5 separate regions of the Homo sapiens genome follow, and all the other regions are linked to region 2. Evidence: promoter capture Hi-C in 16 types of primary human blood cells and fetal thymus (Javierre and others, 2016). All regions are on one chromosome and are shown on one strand. Each heading gives the region's core, a stretch centred on a gene start or on the middle of the fragment in contact. The rest is flanking DNA. Distances are from core to core; before and after follow the strand shown.

Evidence for each region. Contacts are between HindIII fragments. The CHiCAGO score rates a contact against its expected background, and 5 or more counts as called.
Region 1: a contact is called between a fragment that was not itself captured here and the fragment with the promoter of PLSCR4 in region 2, in 4 of 17 cell types (naive CD8 T cells, monocytes, activated CD4 T cells and 1 more). The highest score is 7.3, in naive CD8 T cells.
Region 3: a contact is called between a fragment that was not itself captured here and the fragment with the promoter of PLSCR4 in region 2, in 14 of 17 cell types (M2 macrophages, total B cells, naive CD8 T cells and 11 more). The highest score is 10.8, in M2 macrophages.
Region 4: a fragment that was not itself captured here is called in contact with the fragment with the promoter of PLSCR4 in region 2 in 4 of 17 cell types (erythroblasts, naive B cells, naive CD8 T cells and 1 more); the score reaches 9.8 in erythroblasts.
Region 5: a contact is called between a fragment that was not itself captured here and the fragment with the promoter of PLSCR4 in region 2, in 13 of 17 cell types (naive CD4 T cells, naive CD8 T cells, activated CD4 T cells and 10 more). The highest score is 10.0, in naive CD4 T cells.

The regions. Positions count from the first base shown.
Region 1 is chr3:146,661,294-146,665,454 of GRCh38, reverse strand. No RefSeq gene overlaps it. Among named protein-coding and RNA genes, the nearest start is that of PLSCR5, 58 kb to the right of the region's middle. The HindIII fragment of the contact is 717 bases long and covers 1,275-1,991 here.
Region 2 is chr3:146,249,384-146,253,141 of GRCh38, reverse strand. It overlaps PLSCR4 (phospholipid scramblase 4), which reads left to right and starts at 2,037. Exons shown (of 9, transcript NM_020353.3): 1 at 2,037-2,182. The HindIII fragment of the contact is 7,000 bases long and covers 990-3,758 here.
Region 3 is chr3:146,622,168-146,626,150 of GRCh38, reverse strand. No RefSeq gene overlaps it. Among named protein-coding and RNA genes, the nearest start is that of PLSCR5, 19 kb to the right of the region's middle. The HindIII fragment of the contact is 4,517 bases long and covers 1-3,916 here.
Region 4 is chr3:146,523,972-146,527,614 of GRCh38, reverse strand. It overlaps PLSCR1 (phospholipid scramblase 1), which reads left to right. Exons shown (of 9, transcript NM_021105.3): 5 at 1,968-2,010. Among named protein-coding and RNA genes, the nearest start is that of PLSCR1, 19 kb to the left of the region's middle. The HindIII fragment of the contact is 2,141 bases long and covers 794-2,934 here.
Region 5 is chr3:146,645,309-146,648,940 of GRCh38, reverse strand. No RefSeq gene overlaps it. Among named protein-coding and RNA genes, the nearest start is that of PLSCR5, 42 kb to the right of the region's middle. The HindIII fragment of the contact is 837 bases long and covers 1,878-2,714 here.

The DNA of each region.
Region 1 (4,161 bases), core at 384-2,883, 410 kb before region 2:
TTGACTGCTTTAAAAACGGTAGCGGGTGGGCAGAATGGAAGAACTCCATAAGTAAACTTGAAGCAGACTAGCTATATTCATGAGTGAGACTCAAAAGCATTTCAACCTAACAATGCACATCTATTTTCAAGCTTGTCAATAATATCTTTCTGTACAGATTATTTGTATACACACATGTGTAAGTTAACATGAAAACTCCAACTACAGTTGTGAGTTGTGGAATGCAAGATATGTTTACATTACACTCATCTTTTGAGGCCCTATCTTGTCTCAAGCTTCAGGATCAGCCAACTTTGGTCCTTTTTCTTGCAGGAGCTTTCTGGATCAATTTAATCTAGAAAGGAATGATTACTTTTGATTAGGGTAAATGAGTTTCACTTAAAATATTTTTAAGAGCTAGCATTCTAGCATTTACATTTTAAGACATGTCTCTTAGTTGAATAAAACACTTGACACCAGTTAAAGAAATTTCAGCCATGGGCAGACAGGTAAGGAAAATTAGGGACTACATGAAAGAAGTGAAAAGTACATTGTATTTTCATGTATACGGGAATTTCTTGAAGTTCCTTTTTGCAAATGGAGTATATCACTAAGTATACATATAAATGTGTGGGGGTAATTACTATTTAGTCTTTTCAGGGCGAATTAATAACGGGGAGTATAATAACACAGGCTCATGACCTGTCTTCCTGTTCATCACGAGTTTCTCAAAAAAAGATGGATAGCAAAATTTCCTAGCTATTTTTGTTTGATCCACTTACCAGTGTTGTTAAAAAACGCAGGAAGGTGTTTCTTGGTTTCTGTGAATTTGAAGAATTTCTGCTGCCCTAGGCCATGTTCATCCAGCAGAATTCCTTTCCCTAGACCCTCCTTGAATCCACAACCCCTTGCTTCACGGATCCCTTCACTCTAAGCTCCATTTTTTCTGCTTCTCATTAACTCTTTGGTGACCTTTGTTGTATCTTATAGCATATATTTTTAAAAAGCCATTGAGTTTAACACACATATTTCAGTTGTTTGAATTGTGTTAAGGTGAACATAGGAATAAATAAGGCGTGATTAACCAGTGCCAAGCCTAAGCTTGTTACATGATTTCTGATTTTGCTAATGAACTGCCTTGACAAGGTATAACAGAGTTGTTGGAAACATTGATTTTGCAATCAGAAAGACCTATATTTGAATATTGATTTCATCATTTGCACTGTCTTAAGTTTCCTCACCCATGAAACAAACAGGATCACCTGAAGCAAACTTACCAAAAAGGTTATGAAGCTTAAGTTTTGCAGTATGTTCATAAGGCCTTCAGGTTTTGAAAACTAAAAGTAAGACTTTTTTTTTACTTTTTTTCTTTTTTAAAAATTTGTGTAGATTTAAGGGGTACAAGTGCAGTTTTGTTACATGGATATATTGCATAATGGTAAAGTCTGAGATTTTAGGGTAGTCATCATCTGAATAATGTGCATGGTACATACTATTTCTCACCCCCTCCTGATCTCCTCTCATCCTTCCAAATCTCCAGTGTCTGTTGTTCCACACTCTATTTCCGTTCGTGTACCTTATTTACCTCTTACTTATAAGTGGCAACATGTGCTATTTGACTTTCTGTTTCTGAGCCGTTTCACTTAAGATAATGGCCTCCAGTTTCATCCATGTTGTTGCAAAACACAGGATTTCATTAATTTTTATGGCTGAGTAGCATTCAATTGTATATATATATATGCCAAATTTGCTTTTTCCAGGTATCTATTGATGAAGATTTAAGTTGATTTCATATTGTTGCTGTTGTGAACAGTGATGTGATAAACATGCAGGTAGAATTATATTTTTGATATAATAATTTCTTTTGGGTTGTTTTTTCATGTTGAGTTATTTGAGCTCCTTATAGATTCTGGATATTAATCCTTTGTCAGATGCATAGTATTTAAATATTTTCTTCCATTCTGCATGTTGTCTATTCACTTGTTAATTATTTCTTTTGCTGTGCAGAAGCTTTTCAGTTTAATCAAATGCCATTTTTCTATTTTCGTTTTTGCTGCATTTGCTTTTGGAGTCTTTATCATAAATTCTTTGCCTAGGCAAATGTCCAGGAAAGTTTTCTGATGTTTTCTTCCTGTATTTTTATAGTTTCATGTCTTACATTTAAGTCTGTAATCCTTCTGGAGTTAATTTTTGTACATAGGGTGAGATAGGGATCCAGTTTCACTCTTCTGCATATGGCAATTCAATTTTCCCAGCAACATTTATTGAAAAGGCTGTCCTTTTCCCAGTATTTTTGTCAATGTTGTCAAATTTTAGTTGGTGGTAGGTGTATGCCTTTACTTCTGGGTTCTGTTCCATTGATCTATGTGTCTATTTTTATACAGTACTATGCTATTTGGGTTACTATTACCTGGTAGTATACTTTGAGGTCAGATAATGTGATGCCTCCACCATTGTTCTTTCTGCTTAGGAATGCTTTGGCTATTTGGGCTCTTTTTTGGTTCCATGTGAATTTTAGGATTATTTGTCAAATTCTGTGAAAAATAATGTTGGTATTTTGATAGGAATTACATTGAAACTGTAGATTGTTTGTGCTAGTATGGTGATCTTAATAATATCAGTTCTGATCTGCCAGCCTGGAAGTTTCTTCCATTTCTTTGTCTTGATCCAGTTTTTAAGGGGAATGCACCCAGCTTTTGCCCATTCAGTATGATGTTTGCTGTGGGTTTGTCACAGACGGCTCTTATTATTTTGAGATATTTTCCTTTTATACCTAGTTTGTTGAATGTTTTTATCATGACAGGATACTAAATTTTATCAAATGTTTTTTCTTCATTAATTAAGATGATCATATGGTTTTTGTTTTTAATTGTATTTATGTGGAATTACATGGATTGATTTATATATGTTGAACCATCTTTGCATCCCTAGAATGAAGCCCACTTGATTTAGGTGAATTATCCTTTAATGTAGTATTGGATTTGGTTTTCTAGTATTTTGTTGAGGATTTTTGCAGCTTAGTTTATCAGAGGTATTGGTTTATAGTTGTTTTTCTCTCTCTCTCTTTTTTTTTTTTTTTTGTTATGTCAATGCCTGGCTTTGGTATTGGGGTGACTGGCTTTGTAGAAATAATTAGGGAGGATTCCCTTCACCTGGATTTTTTTAGAAAAGTTGTGGGAGGAATGGTACCAGTTCTTCTTTGCAGATTTGGTAGAATCCATCTGGTCCTGGGATATTTTTGTTGTTGTTTTGGGAGATATATTTTATCTCTGTGATGTAATCTCACTAGTTGCTATTACTCTTCAAGATTTAAATTGTTTCTAGTTCAAATGTGGGGGGTTGTATGTTTCTAGGAATTAATCCATTTCTTATAGATTTTCTAGATTAGGGGCATTTGGTTGTTCATAGTAGTATCTCTTTTTTTTGTGTCTTCTTTCTTTTTTTTGTATCTTCTTTCTTTTTTCTTGTTTACTGTAGCCAGCAGTCTATCAATTTTGCTCATCTTTTCAAGGGACAACTTTTCATTTTGTTGATTCTTTGTATTCTTAGGTTCTCAATTTCATTTAGTTCTGCTCTGATTGATTTTGTTATTTCTTTTCTTCTGCTAGCTTTGGGTTGGTTTTTTTTTTTCTGGTTGTTGTTGGTTGTTTGTTTTTTTGTTTTTTGGTGTTTTTTTTTTTAGTACCTGGAGGTAAATGATGAGATTAATTTGTGATCTTTCTATTCTTTTGATACAAACATTCTAATGCTATAAGCGTACCATTGAGCACTACTTTTATTGTAGATCAAGGGATTTGGCATGCTGCATTTACATATTCATTTATTTTAAAATTTTTTAAAATTTCTGTCTTAATTTCATCATTGACTCAGTGATCATTCAGGAGTTTCTTCTTAAAGTCTGGGTGCGGTGGCTCATGCCTGTAATCCCGGCACTTTGGGAGGCTGAGGCGGGTGGATCACTTGAAATCAGGAGTTCAAGACCAGCCTGGCCAACATGGTGAAACCCCGTCTCTACTAAAAATACAAAAATTTGCCAGGTGTGGTGGTGGGCACCTGTAATCCCAGCGACTCGGGAGATTGAATCAGAAGAATCCTTGAACCTGGGAGGCGGAGGTTGCAGTGAGCCGGGGTCGTGCCAGTGCACTCCACCCTGGGTGACAGAGAAAGACTCTGTCTCAAAAA
Region 2 (3,758 bases), core at 788-3,287:
TCAGGAAATTTCAGAAAAACAGGAAATTGAGTTCTTCTTCTTCCCCTCGAAAGTTGTGATTTGGGGTATATGACATACTTGATTTTATTTTAATCCCTCAAAGCAATATGTTTCACAAGACATGTTTTGCTCTTGAAATTTTTGGTATCTTCACGTGGCCACTGTGGATGTTTACATTCATAAGCTCAATTACTTGGCCTCTTTCATAAATTTTAAACAAAGGTAACATGCCGAGACCAGCTCAGTCGGGGAGACCCTAACCCAGCGGCGCTAGAGGAATTAAAGACACACACACAGAAATATAGAGGTGTCAAGTGGGAAATCAGGGGTGTCATAGCCTTCAGAGCTGACACCCCCGAACAGAGATTTACCCACGTATTAACAGCAAACCAGTCATTAGCATTGTTTCTATAGATGTTAAATTAACTAAAAGTATCCCTTAAGGGAAACGAAGGGATGGGCCGGATTAACTGCAGCAGGAACACGCCCTTAAGACACAGACCGCTCATGCTCATTGTTTGTGGCTTAACAATGCCTTTAAGCGGTTTTCGCCCTGAGCGGGCCAGGTGTTCCTCACCCTCACTCCCGTAAACCCACAACCTTCCAGCTTGGGCATTAGGGCCATTATGAACATGTTACAGTGCTGCAGAGATTTTGTTTATGGCCAGTCTTGGGGCCAGTTTATGGCCAGATTTTGGGGGGCTTGCTCCCAACAGTAACATATGCTATTATAATTTAGTTTCACCACCAGTTTCTTTGTTTTATGCTTTCAGTAAAACACTATGTCTGCATCTGAGAAATGTTCTGTGCAATTATTACTGAGAAGAACAGTATGAATTTTTTAATCTATTCTCACATGAATATTAACAAATAACACACATACAAAGAAAAATATAAAATTCTAGAACTCCACTCCCACATCCCTTCCCCTTTCCAACCTTCTCCCACAATGGGGTTCTGCCAAGTACTCCTCAGAGCTTAATCAAGCTTACTTCTGTCCAGTTCTGATTCTTTATAAGGTCAGAGGACCTTCAGTTCTCCCACTTCCTGTCAGTGTATTGTGCTTCTCTCCAAGCACCACCACAGAACTGAATCCCATTGGTCTGAAAGAAATATTTGTGCCTAACAGTAATAAGCAAATGGCATTTTTCTCCCAATGTCAGAAAACATGGGCAACCTGCTCCCTTTCCCCTTTATTGGCGTCTCTCCCGCCTTCCCTCCAAGATCAAATTGGCCTCCCCCAATTCTGTGGAAAAGAAAACAGAATTTCTGGGCCCTATGCCCAAGTGTTTCCAGCCAGCACGGCATTGCCAAGGCTAAATCACCAAGCCAAGGACCTGGGGGTGGGCGCAAATGCAAATCAAAAAGGCTCTTGAGGCCGGGTGCAGTGGCTCACGCCTGTAATCCCAGCACTTTTGGAGGCCGAGGCGGGCGGATCACGAGGTCAGGAGATCGAAACCATCCTGGCTAACACGGTGAAACCCCGTCTCTAGTAAAAAATACAAAAAATTAGCCGGGCGTGGTGGCGGGCGCCTGTAGTCCCAGCTGCTAGGGAGGCTGAGGCAGGAGAATGGCCTGAACCTGGGAGGCGGAGCTTGCAGTGAGCCGAGATCGCGCCACTGCACTCCAGCCTGGGCGACAGAGTGAGACTCCGTATCAAAAATAAAAATAAAAAAATAAAAAAGGCTCTTGAGAAAGAGGGGTTTCTTCATTTTCTCTCTAGGCGCAGTAATCTATGAACAAAGCTCCCTTTCCCAGGCCCTGCAACCTGCCCCTCTGATTGGAAGTGACCGTGGGCTGGCTTTTATCTTTTCTTTCACCTCTTATTAGAGTAGTGACAACTTATTTTCTTCATTTCTTCCTCCCCCTCGGCTTTTAGGTTTCAGCGGACTTCAGGGTGCCCCACCTCTTCCAGGAAGACGCTCCCCCGGGCTGGCGGCTCTCCCAGCGCGGGGCGGGGTCCGAGACGGGGAAGCCGCGCGCGGGGAAGGAGGGTCCAGGCGTGCCGGACCCGCCCCCAGAACCCGCGCCTAGCCCTCCCTTCCGCGCGCTTACTTTGTTTATAACTTGAAAAATCCTCTCCGTCTCCCTTCCCTGCCTCCTTTCCTTTCCCTTTCCTCTGCCAGTACAACTAGACCCGGCGTCTGGCGTCCCCGGTGCCCAGCATTCTGCGGGGCAGGCGGTGAGTGGGGCTGGACAGGCGGGCGCAGAGCAGGACAGGGTGGCGCGGGCGCCCGGGCTGCGGGGCCGAGGGCGTCGTCAGGGGAGGCCCGAGGCCGCGGTGCCTGCGGGCAGGCGCGGAGGTTGCGCGGCGTCCTGCGCTAGCAGTTCCCGGACACTGCGCTCGCGTCGCATCCTCAGGTGGTTGCAGAAGTTCCGTGGTGTCGGGCGCGCGTCTGCACTGCAGACGCAGAGGGTTTGGGAGCGAGCAGTTTCCTGCCCAGGGATGGGGGTCCTGGCTGCACTTCACGGGGGCGGCCCTTTCGTTTCGCTCTGCGTGACAGGTCTCGCTTGATTGGGTTTCTCATGGGTCTCTGGCGTTTCTACGGCGCGGCTCTCACGGACTCAGGCCAGGCCACTCGCAGGTAAAAACGCTATTTATAGTAACTTTTTAATTGCTCAGCGAGTGGAGGCGGTGACAGGAGAGAATCCCTCTCTCTTATTTCCAATTCTGGCAAACTGGGGCGATTTGGGGCTGTGCTTGATTTGTTTTTAAAAACGTTCATATTTAAAGACTTAGGATTTTATTTTGTGGCCTTATCTTCTCTTAGGATCTACAATTTAGTTTTTAATTTTATACTGCATTTAGAATGGAGCCACCAAAATAAGTACTTGTGAAGATATAATGCACCAAACTTGATACTGCTTAAAGGGGAATAGATTGCCTAATTTAAATTGCATTCTCCTGTAATAGTAATAGAACACAACCTCCATCTGTCTATCTGCTCTCATGGATAGCTGTGAAATACTAGCAGCATTTCCATTAAATTTGAAAAAGACAAGAATGCTAATCATTACACTCTGTGACATGGTTGTGAATTCTATGGGCGAGTGACAACAGGTAGGGGAACATATTATCACTTTATGCATGATGTGAGTGTATACCTTAATGTCCATAGGAAACACTGAAATTTGATGGGAAGCATAAGTGAATTTATCAAAGTTTCCAATTGCATCATACTTAATTTATAGAAGTCAGTTGATGTTTATACATAAACTAGATAATACAGTAAAATAAAGTAAAATTCAGTTTGGCATGAAATAACACACAATTGAGAAATTATTTTTAAGAAGATATAAAAAGGTATGTATGAGAATCCAATAAAATACATAACATTCTTCTAGGTAAAGATATCATTTCTCTAAAACAACGTATAAGTAGAATCCTAACTGAATATTTTTGTTACTGTTTTTAACTGTACTGTTTAGCTCATGTGGAAGAACAAACATATTAACGTTATGTATAATATATTACAAATAATAAAATACAAAATATATAATTATGTCTTATTTTATATATTATATATGATTTTAACATTTAATATTATACATACACACATATATATAGTGGAGACTTCTTCATATAATAAAAGGTGTTACAAAACTGTGGTGATTAAAAGACAGTGCAGTAGACCTACTACCAGATGTGTAAATGAAACTGAAGAGACATGGAAGAATAAAAGGAAAGCTGGCATTTGATAAGCATACATTTTAAATCACTGGGTGGGAAGAAGAAATAACATTTAATTGAATGTACT
Region 3 (3,983 bases), core at 409-2,908, 370 kb before region 2:
AGTCCAAATGAATTAGATGAAAATTTATGTATTCCTTTTTTCCTATATATAATAATTTTTAAAATGGAAAACTCTCAGATATAGTTTGTTTTTCTTCATTGATTTAAACTGGAAGATCATCGGACCCTTTGCTTTCCTCTAGCATGCCAATAAGGAGGAGGAGTGTGGTGGGCTTCTGGGAGATTCCCTATGGTCTCCTGCTTTGGAAATCCTATTTCAGTTATAAATGAAAGATAAATCTATCTTGAATTATTTTCCTCTCACTCTTTTTTTAAAAATTTTTTGATGTCTTATTTCTCTTTTATTTTTAAATTTTTGTTTTTAATTTTTGTGGGTACATAGTAGGCTTATATATTTATGAGTTATATAAGATATTTGATACAGGCATGCGATGCAATATCCATTACCTCCTTTGTGTTACAAACAATCCAATTATACTCTTTTGTACACTCTATATGTGTACAAAAAAAATAGAAAGAATAAGACCTGGTGTGTGATAGCACAACAGAGGGACTATAATTCCCTCACTCTTTTATCAAGATATCTTGGTGGCAGAGCCACTTAAGGCATTCTGTGTTACTTGATAGGCAGGTTTCATACCTCCGCCTGCCTGGAAAAAATTACAGATTGCTTCTAGATTCAGTATCAACATGAAAATGCAATATTTATACAGTAAATGGACAAATTATGCTTGCTTACTAATTGAATATTATCTTGATAAGAGTAAGAAGACAATAAGAGAACTCCCTAAAACAGATAAATGCCAGATTTTAAACAAGAACATGAAAATAATCTTTAGCCTGAGAGGTCACATGGTACTCCTTTTCTCACTTTCACTTTCTGAAGGAACTGCTCATGTGGGATCGCATATTTGTTTAATAAACTATCTGGCTTTCAATGACTTAATGGACCTTTGTTTGTGGAGCAAAATAGGTAATACTGAGTTTTTTGTGAATAGCAACCTGAATATTACTTTATTTCTACTTAAGTGTAATATTTGAAAGCCTTATTCCACTGGTATATTAGAGGAATTTTGAGTGAACATGAAGTAATTGATCACAAAATTTTTAGACTTTCTAGGCCAATTGTTTTAAAGAAAATTTTGAGATAAAATCAAAACTTCCTGATTAAAAAAGAGGAAATGGGAAACCAGAATCCCACCTGCTCAGCCTCACCGAAGCCCCCAATCTTGTACTGACCCTCATACACACAGCTGTCCAAGAGACCTCTTCTTGGGACCTGAGGTTTTCTCAAGACACATTTTAAAATTCATTGATCTGGTTTGTTACTTTATCACCTTTCTTTCCTTTTCTAATTTGGGTTATTTTATGGCTCATAATCACCTTCAACTGAAAAACAATCAACAAACATGGCTGGAACCAAATTTTGTAGAAAACATACACAGCATTTGTGAAATTAAGAGAAAATTACTCACCATATCAATTCGCTGTAATTAAATCTGTGTGTGTGTCTCTGTGTGTGTGTGTGTGTGTGCACGCAATCCCTTATTGTAGCATCTGATGCAAAATATGTGAAGCGTATGTGAATTTTCTTCCTTCCGTTTTCCTTCTTCAAGTATTCCCTTTCTCACATGAAACAAGGGATGTAGAGATACACCCTAGGCTTATTTTTTAAGAAAAAAATATTATTTAAAGTCATTATTCTCTAATAAGAATTATTTTGTTGTGTTTCCCAAACCATGGGTATACATATTCTAAACAAGGGCTGTAGAAAATGGAATGAATTTGAAGGAATTTCCCAATAATGGCTTTTAGGACCTGCTACACTTTGATGGGACTGGTTTCCCACTTCTGAATTCTATCAGTGTGACCCTGGTGATGTAATAAATTTTAAAATCACAGTAGCTCCATTTTACTGGTTAGAGGGGGCATTTTAAGCAAAAGACATCACTCATGGAGTCATGCTATGTTCCTAATTCTGAATTTTTGCTCACACATGAGGCATGGCTTTGTAAGTTGTGCAGTATACAACGTCATATTATCTATGAGAAGGCCACTCAATTGCACACAGGGCAAAAATCATTGATTCCAGTGATTTTTATGACAGACAAAAGTAACATCTCAGTTCTAACAAAACCAGAAAAGGGTCTCAATGTAGGGATTCCATGACAGATCTTTATTTTAGCCCCAGACACCCACTCTCTGTCCGTCTCCACCCATCCCCACCCTGCTCTCTGCCCAGGGAAGTTGACTTCTTTGTCCTACAAAACAAAATTTTCATGTCCTCTGTCTTCTTGTTGGCATTTAGTCAGTGAAGAGCCGGGAGATTGGGAAGGTGGGAGGACAGTGAGGTCAGAGTAGCTATTTCCCTGTCTCAATCCCTCTCAAGACAGCCAACCTCTGTGACTCTATTCTTCTGGATTCTTGTTTTAATTCATATATTTCTCTTTAGGACTGACTAATAGACTAAGGGGTATTTGTCTTTTGTCCCACACTCACAGATTTATAAATAATGCCTTTGCAAATGAGCATTCTGGATCTTCTTCCGTTTTGAAGGTGTCATCGAGTTTCTATTGGTACCCTGACTGTAGGAGGTCCCTTCCTCATGCACACTCAGGCATTGCATGACTAGCCCTTCCTTGTGCTCATGCTCCACATTCAGAATCTCAGTTCCACTGATATATGCCTCTGCATCTCCCTAACAGGAAAAAGGAAGCAAGGGGACAATCTAAAAAGAAGTATAGAGGCCGGGCGCGGTGGCTCACGCCTATAATCTCAGCACTTTGGGAGGCCGAGGCGGTCGGATCACGAGGTAAGGAGATCAAGACCACCCTGGTTAACGCAGTGAAACCCCGTATCTACTAAAAAAAGTACAAAAAATTAGCCGGGCGTGGGGGCGGGCGCCTGTAGTCCCAGCTACTCCAGAGGCTGAGGCAGGAGAATGGTGTGAACCCGGGAGGTGGAGCTTGCAGTGAGCCGAGATGGCGCCACTGCACTCCAGCCTGGGCGACAGAGCGAGACTCCGTCTTAAAATAAATAAATAAATAAATAAATAAATAAATAAATAAATAAATAAAAGTACAGTAGAAAATCTAGCAGATATGCTTATGTTCATCTTCAATTAGGAGAGAAATAAAAATTCCTAGACACTCCCTTTTTCTGTGAGAAATGCCACTACAGATTGCAGAACAAGAAATATTTTGATTTTTTTAACAAAGTGTCACTCTAGTTGTGTTTTTCCCACTTTGTATTTATTAATGCTATATTGTTTTTAAACTACTTCCATGTCCATTCTTTCATTTAATTAACCTAAAAGTATATGCTTTCAAAAAGTTAAAGTTGCCTATCTGTGATTACACAACTAATAAATGATAATTGCAAAAAAAAAAAGAAATATTTTGATTTTAAATTTGTTTAAAGTGCCTAATGCTCAAAACATGATATCAAACCATATAAAAGTTTTAAAATATGAGTTTTATATTCCATTCTCCAAACTCTGGTTCCATTGTATTTTTTAACAATTTACTCATTTTTCTTGGGATAGATGTCAGAAAATAATCTTAAAATACTCTAAAAATATTCAACTCTCTAAATATTATAAATACATAGAAACACTTATAAGATTAACCTAACATAATGCTTCAAATTCCTGATTTATCAATTTAACAGTATCTATTTATTCTCAATATAGGTTAGCTACCTAAGGAAATCACGCTTTCTTTCTCCATATATATAAATGTGTGTGTGTGTGTGTGTGTGTGTGTACACATACACAACTGCTGTTATGTTTTCAAGGTTTATATAATTTATCTTCTATTATTTATGTATAACCAAGACCTTTGGGTTTTATTCATAGGTGGATTACAAAAAGTGAAGACCAATAACAGTATTTATAATATAATGGCATACAATACTTCAGAACAAAGTTGCATGAAAGAAAAAAGTACAAGTAAGCTTAAGCTACTAAATATAAGCCACTAAAGGGAAAATATTCTCAGCATTAAGGTCAAATTAATTCTGTTT
Region 4 (3,643 bases), core at 615-3,114, 270 kb before region 2:
ATGACAAAGGTTGATATTAAGTATGCTTAATACAAATCTGAAACTTGTAAAAAAAAATCTCTTTGATGGCTAAAAAAGTTACCAATATTTCTTCAGCCTATTCTAGAAGGAAGATTGTTTTCTACCTTTTGAATTGTTTTTGACACATAATAATTGTGCATATTTATGGAGTACAGTCTGGCATTTTAATGCACATGTACTACGTGTAATGAAAAATAAGGATAATTAGCATATCTGTCACTTTTAATATTTATCATTTCTTAGTGTTGAGAACATTCCAAATCCTCTCTTCTAGCTATTTGAAAATATACAATAAATTATTGTTAATTATAGTCAGCCTACATAGCTATAGAACACTAGAATTTATTCCTCCTATCTAGCTGTAATTTTGTATTCATTAACCAACTTCTCTTTATACCTCTCCTCCCTACCCTTCACAGTTTCTAGTAACCACTATTCTAGTATCTACTTTTTTTTTTAGATGGAGTCTCATCCTGTCACCCAGGCTGGAGTGCAATGGCACGATCTCGGCTCACTGCAACCTCCGCCTCCCGGGTTCAAGCTATTCTCTTGCCTCAGCCTCCCAAGTAGCTGGGCTACAGGCTCCTGCCACCACACCCAGCTCATTTTTGTATTTTTAGTAGAGACGGTTTCACCATACTGGCCAGGCTGGTCTTGAACTCCTGAACTTGTGATCCGCCTGCCTTGGCCTCCCAAAATGCTGGGATTACAGTCGTGAACCACTGCGCCTGGCCTCTACTCTCTACTTCTAAGAAATCAATTTTTTTAAGCTTCCATGTATGAGTGAGAACATTCAGTATTTTTCTTTCTGTGCCTGGCTTATTTCACTTAACATAATGTCCCTTAGGCTCATCCATGTTGCTGCCAATGACAGGATTTCATTCATTTTTATGGCTGATTTTTATTCCATTGTGTGTATTAAGAATGAATTTTTCTTTATTCATTTATCTATTGATGAATACTTAGGTTGATTCTATATATTGACTGTTAGTGCTGCAATAAGCATGAGATTGCAGATACCTCTGACATATTGATTTCCTTTCCTTTAAAATTTTTGTTTTGAAAATTTTGAAAAAATACTGTTTCAAAAAAAACAGTAGTGGGATTGCTGAATCATATGGTGGCTGTAATTTTAATTTTTGAGGAACCGCTACACTGTTCTCCATAATGGCTGCTCTAATTTACTTTCCCACCAACAGATTTCCCCTTCTCCACATTTTTACCATTATTTGTTATTTTTTGTCTTTTTGATAAAAATTCTTAACTGTACAAAGATAATATCTCATTGTGGTTTGGATTTCATTTCCCTGGTGATTAGTGATGTTGAGCATTTTTTCATAAACTTACTGGCCATTTTGTATCAATTTTCTTTTCTTTTTTTTTTCTTTCTTTTTTTTTTTTTTTTTTTTTGAGATGGAGTCTCACGCTTGTTGCCCAGGCTGGAGTGCAGTAGCGCGATCTCGGCTCACTGCAACATCTGCCGCCTGGGTTCAGGCGATTCTCCTGCCTGAGCCTCCCAAGTAGCTGGGACTACAGGCACCTGCCACCACACCCAGCTCATTTTTTGTATTTTTAGTAGAGACAGGGTTTCACCATGTCAGCCAGGATGGTCTCGATCTCCTGACCTCGTGATCTGCCCACTTTGGCCTCCCAAAGTGCTGGGATTACAGGCATGAGCCACCTCAATTGTCTAATTTTTAAAGGTACTCCAGTATAAATCAATTTTATTTGACCTAAATTTTTCCACATTAATAATGAACACAATAAATATTTTATTAATTAAAAATATTAACTTCAGTTTTACACTAAAAAGTAATATAAGCTGTTAAATATTGATAATTGGTTACATGTACTTTAAAAATATAAATACATGAATTTTAATTTGGTTAGCTTATAAAAACCTTCATTTGACATATACATACCACTTATTTTTTTTCCTGCTATAGATAGATCAGATACTGATTCATCAGCAAATTGAACTTCTGGAAGGTATGTATTCATTGTTTTAATCCTGTTTCTATAAAGAGTAGAAGTTTATGCAGATAAAGGCACATTGACCTCCACAAATATAACACTCTCACTTATATAGGACAGTTAAACCAGTTATTTACAATAATAAATGTTATCAGCAATTCATTTCTAAAATTTAGGAATCAAAAGGTAAAATGCTGTTATGTTGGGCACCTGCCCTCGGGATATTGACACTAACTTAGAAGGAAAATAATCAAAACCCTTATTTTGCTCCTCTCTTCATACATCACTTTTTTTCTGACTTCTACCACTTAAGCTATTTTCTCCGTAATTGTGATCAGCTTAAGAATGGCACAGAGCCACATTCCAAAGTAAGTTATCTTTTTTATTTGGATGAGGAAGTTTGGGAAAATTATCATTTGTGCCCACAGTTTCTCTTGGGAGTTAAGATGAACCCTATAAAACCTTTGTATACGAGGTCAGATGCAGGCCACTGCAGTGTGGGAGGATGCTGACCAACTAGCCTGCAGGCTTGGCTTCATAGAAGAGCACTCCTGCTCCTGCTGAATGGCCTGACATTTCCTTGGGTCCAGGGCTCCTTAGGTGCAAAAATAAACCTAGGAAGCCAATTAATGTTTTATAATGGCTGCCAGGGGAAGAAGACCCTGGATAGATTTATGAACCATAGTGTTTTCCTTCTAGATAAAAAAGGTTTAATAAAAAATAAAACTCTCCAGTTTTTAGGAATATGTCTGCTAAATTCATTTTCACCTGTCTCCAAAGTTTCTTTCCACTGGTAAAAATTAGAAGATGAATTGTATAAGCAGAATAATGGATTTGGCTAAAATATACAATTGTCATCTATTACATTGAAGTTATTTGTAAAGCACATTATTATTTATAAGTTACTTGATTTTTTTTTTAGTGTATCTAAACAAAGCTTTCTCTGGAAGACAGCTTTGTATTCTGAATTTTTTAATGTTTTATAGTATATATTAGTAAGGCTATAAAATCCAAACAGACATATAACCAAACATTACACAGCACACTATTTATCTTTTTTTGTAGATTTATAGGCTTTATAAATATTTGTTAAATATGTGTTAATTATGAAATAGAAAGTTCCAAATCTAACAGTTTTTAATTATGCTTATTTTTCAAAAAAGAAATGTCTCCAGTTTTTTTTTTGTTTCTTTTTCTCCAAAATTGAAAGTCTATGTTATTTTTTCATGAGTGGTATAAAAAAGATGAAGATTACTCAGGTTTTTAGAATCTGAGCATAAACTAGGCACTTACTTTTTTTTCTCAATTCAAAACACAGAAGACAATAAAAATATAAACAATTTGTTTACATTTTTAAAGTAAATGAAAAGAAACTTAAAGGTTATGTAAACCAATGTTGTTTTACAAATAAGCTGGAGATTTTTGAGATTAAGCTACTTAATGTAACAATTAATTAGATAATGAATGTCCTCTCAAAATCAGCTTAACTTTTTTCTCATCAAACATTTGACTATTTCAGATGTTGAAATCAGACGTTGTTCCTATAAATGCAGAGTACAGGGTCTGTCTGTGTCCCACCAAGGACACTTAAAGGAGTTCATGGTGGTAAGACTTGTGAAGGCCGTCTTTATCCGACTCAGAGTCTTTC
Region 5 (3,632 bases), core at 1,047-3,546, 400 kb before region 2:
ACTTTTTTGTGTTTAGCTTACATACATTTGATTGAATTGTATTTATGCTATTCTGTTTACTGCATAAAGTCAATCCACATGCACACCAAATTGGATTAGATATGAAAATAATAAAATGCCAAATTGCATGTTTACTATAGTTTGAGACTTCAAGACGACCGTGTACATGATGGAGAAACAAATTGGGCTGATAGTAGAAGTAAGCTTTGTTTGCTCTTTATTTAAGGAAAACAAAATAGAAATCTACATTAATGGGCTCTACATTTTATAAGAAATTGGAGTGAATCTGATGATTTGTTCAAGTACTGCTCACCAGCTTCATTAACTTAATGTAATGTACATAAAAGGCAACTTACCTACCATGATTACAATTAAATATAAACATTCAGTATATTTATCTCACCCTCAATTCTAAGTAGTCTAAAACATGCCTCATGGTATGATACAGCTTCTTGAAAATGTATGCGAAATAATCCCTATTGCATATTACATGTGGCCAGTTATATATAAACAACCACATATGAGACAGTGGGCCAATAAGATTAAAGTACTATATTTTTACTGTACCTTTTCTATCTTTAGATATGTGTAGACACAAATACTTACCATTGTATTATAGTCATCTACAGTATTCGGCACAGTAACATGCTATACAGGTTTTTAGCCTAGACGCAATAAGCTATACTATAGCTTAAGTGTGTAGTAGGCTATACCATCTTGGTTTATGTGGGTACCCTGTATGATTTTTGCACAAGGATGAAGTCACCTAAGGACACATTTCACAGAATGTATCCTTGTCATTAAGTGACACATGATTGTTTTTGGAGATTACTTTCTGTATTGATTATAAATTATAAATTAAAGTAAGAAAACAATCTTTGGTATTCTATGGACTTTGTCATAATTGGAAGTGTTTTCTCACTCAAATCTTAGTTTCTTCCACAAACTTTCATGTATCTCTTTCACCAAATAGGACACCAACTGGCAAGTAGACGAGAGGTAAATGAAAGGTTGACTAAAAGAAAACATGAGCTTTTTCCAAAGAGAAAAAAAATAAAATCTGAAACCAAAATGCCCCTTTTTAATTTAATTCATTACAGGACTCCACATCTCTTAACATAATGAATTTTACTTTTATCAGCTTTCTTCATTTCTTTAGCATCTCTGTTTCACTGCAAGAACAGATTCTTGGTAAATGCTCTTTGTAATCTAATGTTCCAAAGACTACTTATTCAGTTTCCAACAACTTGTCTGGTCTTCTGTCAGTTGGGGATGTTAAAATGATTAAGAAATAGATCTTCACCCATACTTACTTATTGGTTGTTGAAATACCACGTATTTCCATATTGCTGGCAAATAACTACTGCCTTTGTTCTCTGAGTGCTTCCCTGTTACCCCAGCAGCCAAGGTGCTGGGATGCTCTGGAATTCCCCCAGAATCCAGCAACTTAATGAGGTAGTAACCAGCACAGGTGAGGAGTTCCAAGCCTTTGCTCCTACACTTGACCAACATTCATAGCAATTTTTAAATATCCCAGCACCAAAACTGAACATGATGTAAATTTGTTTTTTATAAGTGTTCTGGATACCAGATGATGAGGTGATTGATCCCAGTGCTGGAGACTTGGGTCACCTGTAGAAGGCAGTTGAAATGTGAGTTGAGTTGGTGGGAGACAAAAATAAACCTTTTTTCCTATCCAGTCTTCACTCCTTTGCTGTTTCTAATTGCCTCCATGTTAAGAAATAAATCTCTTACTTTGTTTATTTGTTAATAATAATTGTGTGCTAAGTAAGAGAAAGTGGCTTCTGACCAAAAGCTAAGGATCTCTCCTGAAGACAATGTATGGTTTTTTGCTGTGAAGATTTAAGCCAGAAGCTTCAGTTGTGCAGAAGCCATTTTGTTTATTTCCTAGTCCTCAAATCTCTTCTCAGGTTGAGATTAGAAAGGCAGAAACTTCTATGTAAGTAAATAGATACTAAAAACATTTTGAAAATATTTTCAAGTAAAATGACTACTGAAGTCAATTTTACAATATGCAACTGATCTAAAAGTGTATTTGACATCTAGCTTTTTTAATGCTACTGTACTTACTACATTTAGAAATGTTAACGGGAAGACAAGGTTTAATCAAATATTTTCATTAGACCTACATCTCAACCAAGAAGATTTTGTTGCTGTTACCCTTCACATGTGCCTTAGAATATGAAAATAATAAAGTAATAATTTCAGATGAAAAGCAAAGTGACAAATACTTTAAGCATAGCACTTAAAAGCTCTGTTGGGTAGGAAAGTCCAGTATTTTTAAAAAGCCATATTTTTATGCAATATTAAAACAAGAAATTTTCAATGATAGTTGCTTAAAATGTCTGCTATACACATAGGATTCAAAAGAGGCACCCCCGACTGTTTTCCATTCATATGAATGGGAAGTACATGGGTAAATTACCGCCTGCAGTGCAGGATAGTGGACGTTGTACACAGCTGTTACTGTAGCCCTGTAATTATGCAAGTATCCTTCCACTGTTATACAATTAGAAGGACCTGTCTTTCTTTCTTGCATTAGGCAATGTTTTTGTTGGTGTCAAGAGCACTGAGCTATCTGTACATGTTCGGTTGTTTGTGTCTGAGTTGAATATAACTGGTACATTACAAGCAGTTCATTTTTAAAATCATGTTTTAAAAATTTGAAAAAATTCTATCATAATAAGAAAGCTTATCTTATTCCAGCTAACTTATTAAATAATTTTTAAAAATTTCTTCCCAGTAATCGACTCTGTTGCACCCTTGTATTTTGTCAACATGGAATGTAGATAATATCAAACATTCTGCATAATCTTTCAGTATCATAAGTAGATCAGAGGACAGAAGTAAAAGTGTAAACACAGTCATTAAATATTTTGTCTGTTACCGTTGTAATTTAAAACACAGATTTTAAAAATCTAGAGGTAACCTTTAAAAATGGAAATTTGTTAAGATCATTGAGGGATGGAGATTTCATTGAAACTTAGATTATATAAAACAAATTATGACTTGCCAAAAAAAAAATGAAACCTTGTAAAAATTTACATATAACAGAAGGCATGTAATCAAAAAGATAAATGTTTTTTACTTGACTCAGATACTCAGCAACAGTTGCGTATGGTGCCTGAACCATGAATTTACGGGTCACTTTTACAAAAGGAGCAAAGTTGGGTGGGTGGGTGGTTATATAAAACTGTTTTCAGTAACACTGACATGTATATTAATGGCTAGCAATGTATTTCTAGTTTAGATCCTAAATACAAATCTTAATTTCTAATTTTACTAATTATACACTAGCATTCATTTCCCAAGGTTAAATAAAGACTAAATTGAAGGTCACATGGAAAACTAAGAAGAGTCACTTTTTTTAACTTTTTAAAAATTTTTTATTATTTTGTTTTGTTTTGTTTTTTGAGACAGAGTCTTACTCTGTTGCCCAGGCTAGAGTGCAGCGATGTCATCTTGGCTCACTGCAACCTCCGCCTTCCGGGTTCATTCAATTCTCCTGCCTCAGCCTCCTGAGTAGCTGGAATTACAGGTGCCCACCACCACACCTGGCTAATTTGTGTATTTTTGGTAGATATGGAGTTTCGCCATGTCAGCCAGGCTAG